2 separate regions of the Homo sapiens genome follow, and region 2 is linked to region 1. Evidence: promoter capture Hi-C in human tissues and cell types (Jung and others, 2019). All regions are on one chromosome and are shown on one strand. The core of a region is centred on a gene start or on the middle of the fragment in contact, and the rest is flanking DNA. Distances in the headings are between cores, read along the strand shown.

Region 1 (3,438 bases), core at 124-2,623:
CGGAGGATTCAGGAAGCCAGGGACAAAGACCCCACAAAATGGCCGCCAGCACCATTCTTTTTTTTTTTTTTTTTAATTCCACTGACACCTGGTGAAGCCACCCTTATGGTTCACTCCACCCGCCGCGTCTCCTGTTCCGAGCAACTGACGCTGCAATAAGCGGCCGCCACCGGGAAATGCCCAGAGAGGACCAGACGCCCGAGGAAGGGCGGAGCAGAGCGGCCGCAGGCCCCGCCCAACACCGCGCTCAGCCTCCCGCGGGCTCCAGCCTCACCTGCGCGGCCTGTGGAGCTGCACATCTCCAGGCCCCGCCCCCCAGAACTCTGATTGGCGGGTCTAGGCGGGGGCCGGGAAATCTGCATTTGCACCAGCGCCCACCCCCGTCCTTCCCACCCCCGCCCCTCACGCCCAGGTAAGTCTATGGCAGGCGATACGAGAGCCCCGCAAACCTCAACGCGTCACGCTGCCATCCTCCGAACAGGAAGACGGCGAGGCGCAAAATACCAACCCGTCCCCTCTTCCCAAATGCAGAAAAACCCTTGCCTGTTCCGCGCCTAAGCTGCCCTCGGGGTCTCCTACTGCGGGAAGGGCACAGCAGGTGGCAGCCCCTGTCCCAGCCGTGGGATTCCTTCCCCGAAATTGTGGGGGGAGAACACAAGGGGTAGTGTCACCAAGCGGCCAGTAGGAGACCCTCCCACCCTCCTGCGACTGCTGGTTCGGGTCCACCCCGGGCGGAGGGGGAAGGGGCCACCGGAGCGCAGGTGGTCTCGGCGCAGCCTCCTGGGGCTGGGACCCAGGGGCGCTGATGGGGTACCCCGAGGCGTAGGCCGCGCCCCCCTAAAAGCTGAGCATATCTGGGCTCCCGAGTAATGCTCCAAGCGCAGAGCTCGGTGTGACACTGACCAAATTGTTACCTCAGATATTAATTACGGACAGATATTAATTACGGAACAATAAAACGGTGAGAAAGCACGGCTGATCCGAATTCCGCGAGTGTGTAAACAGCACTGGGGCGGGCCCGGCTTCTCGGGGTTTCTAAAGGAAGGTGGGCAAGGAGGCCCAGGCAACCGGGCGCTCGAACCCCAAAGGGCCGGCATCAGGCTAGGTGCCGCCCGGGGCTGAAGCGCAGGGACCCCCTCCCCACCTCCCCGCCTCCCCAGCCCTGCCCCAGGCTCATGGCGCCGGGCGCGGCGCGCGGCCAACCTGTCAGGCCCGGCCAGGCTGGCCCGAGCGCCGGGCTCCGGGAGGCGCGGACAAAGGAAAACACGGGCCCAGGCCCACTCACCCGGCGCGGGGCCTGCTGTCCATCCGCTTCTTCTGGCGCACCGGCTGCAGCGGGATGTTGTCCGTCATGTCGGCGGCGCCGCCCGCCTTGGCCGCCGCGCCCCCCGCGCCGCCTGGGCCGCCGCCCGGTCCGGCCTCCGCGCCGCCGCCCGCCGGCGCCGCGCCGCCCCGGGGGAGGAGGCGGCGGCAGCGGGCGGGCCGGGCCCGCAGCGAGGGGGCGAGCTCGCGAGCGCCGGGCCACGCGCGGAGCGCCCGCGCGGCCCGACCGACGGACACGGGCGCACCATGGGCCCGAGCTCCGCGCTGCGCCCGCTCGCTCCGCGCCGCGCCGCGCCTGCCACGGGGGGCGGCCGGGCCGTGTCCGCGCCGCCGCGACCGCTGCAGTGTCCCCGCCCCCGGCCCGCGCCCGCGCCCCCCACGCGCGCCCACCCGGCCACGCGCCCCCCGCCCACGCCCGCCGTGCGCGCACCCTGCCACCGCACCCCCCGCAAAATCCCACATTCACAATCACATCCCAGCCCTATACACGCGCGCTGTGACACTCATCCCCACCAATATCTGACATGCACAATCACACGGGCACCCGGCCACGCTCACCCCATCAGTCAGTCATTCTCACTCACTCTTGCACCAACGTGCATATTCACGCCCAGGCCCTACACACACACCTGCCACTGCTCACTGCCTGCAACATCTAACATTCACAATCACATGTGAGTCCTGCACACACACATAACACTCTCACCCTCCTGTTGGTCACCATCATCCATGCACCCAGTTTCTCAAGCCTCACACCCATGTGCCTGCAGAAATCACAGTCACACAGGGACCCTCAGCTTATCAGACTCCTTCACCCTCTGACCTTCACCATCCTCACCCTCATTCTCTATCTGGATTCTGGGAACTCACCATGACACACACGCACCTGCCTCTTTCATCCAAACACCCTTCAATAGTCTGAACACCCTCATTCTCACACCAGCCACTTTCTTGGGCTTGCACATGGGCCCCACTCTCAGGCCTCAGACAGTCACCCTGCATTACCTGTCACTGTGATTCACGGTCTCACACACACACCTATCTCCACCGCAGCCCACATCCACACTCACTTCCACACCCTCCCACACAGTGTCTGGGACCCATGAACTTTTCAAAGGCCTGATAAAGTTATGAGAGCAGGAAAAAAAAAACAGAGGGAAGGAACAAAGTGAGGGAGTTTAAAAATCAATATGTAACTAAAGAGCCTGAAATTGTAATAATACCATATAAACTAATCTAAAGCTGACTTTTACATAGTTACATCTAATGACTGATCATGTTGGACGCCGTTTCTTTTTTTTCTTTTTGAAACAGAATCTCCCTCTGTCGCCCAGGCTGGAGTGCAGTGGCAAAATCTCAGCTCACTGCAATCTCTGCCTCCCAGGTTGAAGCAATTCTCCTGCCTCAGCTACCCGGGTAGCTGGGGTTATACATGTGCCTGGCTAATTTTTGTAGTTTTAGTAGAGATGGGGTTTCACCATGTTGGCCAGACTGGTCTTGAACTCCTGGCCTCATGTGATCTGTCCACCTCGGCCTCCCAAAGTGCTGGGCTCTTCCTTGGCATTTGCTAAATGCCATAGAGATTTAATTGGGATGAAGGAAGAGCATCCGGCCCAGTCCACCTTTCCAACTCTCACCAGAAGCCTTTCCCTGCTCCCACGGGCCACTGCGCTTGGCCCTTTTATTTTGTTTTATTTGTTTGTTTTTTTAAGTTAGTGCTAACTGCCAGCAAGTGGATGCCTTTTGTGTTTGCTGTCACACAGGATGGAGCCACCAAATATCCCAGTGTCTGAGGTGGATCTCAAACCAAGAAGTGTGACTTATCTCATGCACCAGAGAAGTTCCTCAAGAAAAGAAGCATGTCATTAGTAATTGCTGCATTGCACATTTGGAGAGGAAATAGCATTCTCCAGCCAACAGGCCTGGTGTGCTTTGCTTCCTGCTGTCTCTTCTACATCTAAAATGATGCTTCGTACATAGCATGGCACAAGTTGGCACTCAATAAAGGCTTCTTGCATGGAAGAAGGATAAACACCCTGACACACCAATTATGGCATCAGTGTGGGTCCCACCATCTCCCATCTGCTTTGCTAGACATCCCCCTTTCAAACTCCA
Region 2 (3,613 bases), core at 474-2,973, 93 kb before region 1:
TGACAGGAGCTCTAAATGGCATCCCTAGCATAGGGAGGCAAGGCAAGGAAAGATCTCTGATTCAAGAAAGGATGGCTTGTGGAGGAATGTGATCTTCTGGTGCTAGAGCCTCAGTGTGGTTCACACTCCTGACTGATTGCTCTTGGTCCTCACTCTACAAAGAGATCTGCTCCTTCTAAAAGCCGATGGGCGCGGTGGCTCACACCTACAATCCCAGTACCTTGGGAGGCTGAGTCAGGTAGATCACCTGAGGTCAGGAGTTCAAGACAAGCCTGGCAAACATGGTGAAACCCCATCTTTACTAAAAATACAAAAATTAGCCAGGCATGGTGGTGCATGCCTGTAATCCCAGCTACTTAGGAGGCTGAGACGGGAGAATCACTTGAACCTGGGAGGTGGAGGTTGCAGTGAGCCAAGATCGCGCCACTGCCCTCCAGCCTGGGCAACAAGAGCAAAACTCCATCTCAGAAAACAATAATAATAATAAAAGCCACAGAACCATCATCTTTGAATGAGTAAAGAGAAGAAGATGTCACGGCAGCCAAACTCAAGCTCGTCGCCTGCTTACCTAATGGGGATGATGTTGGAAAACAAGAGGAGGAAGCGGATGATCTGCAGGTACCAACGGCCTGCAAAGTGCTGAAGGGCAACCATGACCAGCGAGACCACCACCAGGGCACCAAAGAGGATCTTGGTGAGGCAGTTCACTTCCAAGTCGAACAGGCCGATCTGTGGGACGAAGCACAAACCAGGGCTTGAGATGAGCTGGTGTAACTAATCTCAAACCTAAACCAGGAGGTGGAGGCTGCAGTGAGCTGAGCCTCACTGCACTAACTCAGCCTGCCGGAGAGCTGGTCCTTCCCCTACAAACACCTCTACCCCAGGTAGGACAGTGGGATCCATCGATCCTCATATCTTTGGTCTAAGAACACTGCTTCCATGGGCTGGTGTTCATAACAGGCATCCAAGGGAACTCAAAGAATTCTGAAAACTCAAAAAAATGTTTACAACTAAAGAAGATTTACACTTGGAAATGTATCAGCGAGTTACTGCTGTGCTGGCTGGGTCGTGTGCTGAATAGCCTCCACCACCCTGCAGAGTGCCCTTGGCCTTGTAAAACAACTCAGATCCTAAACTCTCAGCACCCTACCCAACACCAACTCGGCAGTGCCTGAAAGTCTGGGGCGCACACCAGTGGTGGCACCCGATTTTTAGGTGGTGCATTAATGGACATTATTTTATTATTTATTTATTTAGAGATGGAGTCTCGCTTTGTCACCCAGGCTGGAATGCAAGGGCACAATCTTGGCTCACACCTCCTGGGTTCAAGCGATTCTCCTACCTCAGCCTCCCGATAAGCTGGGATTATGGCGCCCGCCACCACACCCAGCTAATTTTTGTATTTTTAGTAGAGACGGAGTTTCGCCATGTTGGCCAGGCTGGTCTCAATCTCCTGGCCTCAGGTGATCCACCTGCCTCGGCCTCCCAAAGTGCTGGGATTACAGGTGTGAGCCACCGTGCCCGGCCCTGGACATTATTATTTTAATAATAATACATTTATCTTCATGTCTAGTCTTTTAAAAAGTAACAAATCATATCCATAACTTCATAGAAACATGCCCCAGGATAAGGCTAAAACATTAAACAAACGATTTTATAGTTGTAATGATGGCTGTAACGTCTAATGGTGGAGCGACCATGACTGAAGTTTAGGAGACACAGCATTCCTTCCTGCTACTGACAAAAGACAATTATTCTGTAATGTTCTGACTCTTAAAAATTGGAGGAGGGGTAAGCTGTGATGGTGGGTCACGGTTTGAATCACATGGGCCTGCCCCGTCCTCACTGTGTAGCCTGGACAGGGCACGGTGCTTCCTGAAGCCGTTTCTCATGGATAAAGGAAGCATGCACTCACAGGGCTGTTATGAAGATGAAATGAGATGCACGTGAAGGGTGAAACACAAGGCGTGCAAACCGTACGTGCTCCACAGTTTAACCTAAAAGCACAAAAAATGCTGGGCGCCATGGCTCACGCCTGTAATCCCAGCACTTTGGGAGGCCGAGGAGGGAGGATCACTTGATGTCCGGAGCTTGAGACCAGCCTGGCCAACATGGTGAAACCCCATCTCTACTAAAAATACAAAAATTAGCCAGGCATGGTGGTACACGCCTATAGTCCCAGCTACTCAGGAGGTGGAGTTGGGAGGATTGCTTGAGCCCGGGAGGCAGAGGTTACAGTGAGCCAAAATCAAGCCACTGTATTCCTGCCTGAGCAACAAAGTGAGACCCTGTCTCAAAAAAAGAAAAAAAAAAAAAAGGCACAAAAAAGTCATATATCCACAAACATGTAACTACATATTTACGTACTGTATTATATATGTGTATTGTATATGTATTTATTGCATACACACACACACATATGCATAAAAAGATAAAATGTCTGTATAAATATCACTCTTAGGTGTTCCTATTTTAATATCTCGTCACTCACCCACCAGAACCAACCAGCCCACAGCCGGTCAATGTACCCCATGACCTCGTACACACCTTACTTCGGGGATTTGAGGTATTCATGACACTCCGGAGTTCTCTGCCAGTGTAAAGAACAACACCCACAACAGTACCTAAAATGGAAAAAAGAAAAAAAAAAAAAGAAAAGAAATATTAATACAGACAGGCAGGCTTGCAAATAGAAGAGTCTGATCCTCTTGAGAGACTGGGTTCTTTTTTTTTTTTGAGACAGAGTCTTGCTCTGTTGCTCATGCTGGAGTCTGGAGTGCAGTGGCACAACATGGGCTAACTGAAAGCTTCCCACCATGTTCAAGCGATTCTCCTGCCTTAGCCTCCTCAATAACTGGGATTATAGGCGTGCACCACCATGCCTGGCTAACTTTTGGGTTTGTTTTGTTTTGAGGCGGAGTTTTACTCTTGTTCCCCAGGCTGGAATGCAATGGCGTGATCTCCGCTTACTGCAACCTCTACCTCCTGGGTTCAAGCAATTATCCTGCCTCAGCCTCCGGAGTAGCTTGGATTACAGGCACCTGCCACCACACCCGGCTAATTTTTGTATTTTTAGTAGATACGGGGTTTCACCATGTAGGCCAGGCTGGTCTTGAACTCCTGATTTCAACTGATCCATCTGCCTCAGCCTCCCAGAGTGCTGGGATTACAGGCATGAGCCACCACGCCCAACCTCAATTTTTGTATTTTTAGTTGAGATGGGGTTTCACCACGTTGGCCAGGCTGGTCTTGAACTCCTGACTTCAACTGATCCATCTGCCTCGGCCTCCCAAAGTTCTGGGATTACAGGCATGAGCCACCACGCCCAGTCTCTTTTTTTTTTTTTTTTTTTTTTTTTTTTGAGAGAGGGTCTTACTCTGTTGCCCAGGCTAGAGTGCAGTGGCACAATCATATTAATAGCTCACTGCAGCCTCAACATCCTGGGCTCAAGCGATCCTCCCACTTCAGCCTCCCGAGTAGCTGGGACCACAGGCACATGCCACCATGCTTGGCTAATTTTTGTTTTTTTTGTAGAAATGAGGTCTCACTATGTTGCCCAGGCTGGTCTTGAATTCCTGGATTCAAGTGATCCTCCCACCTTGGCCTCCCAAAG

The links. The method cuts DNA at HindIII sites, captures the fragments that hold promoters and counts their contacts. A contact is called where the count stands out against the background at its distance.
Region 2: a contact is called between a fragment that was not itself captured here and the fragment with the promoter of ATP9A in region 1, in 3 of the 25 tissues and cell types used here (H1 embryonic stem cells, liver and stomach).

Annotation. Positions count from the first base shown.
Region 1 is chr20:51,767,017-51,770,454 of GRCh38, forward strand. It overlaps ATP9A (ATPase phospholipid transporting 9A (putative)), which reads right to left and starts at 1,374. Exons shown (of 28, transcript NM_006045.3): 1 at 1,286-1,374. The coding sequence starts at 1,353. The HindIII fragment of the contact is 32,964 bases long and covers 1-3,438 here.
Region 2 is chr20:51,673,585-51,677,197 of GRCh38, forward strand. ATP9A (ATPase phospholipid transporting 9A (putative)) reads right to left here. Exons shown (of 28, transcript NM_006045.3): 10 at 2,548-2,624; 11 at 569-729. Among named protein-coding and RNA genes, the nearest start is that of ATP9A, 93 kb to the right of the region's middle. The HindIII fragment of the contact is 6,386 bases long and covers 1-3,613 here.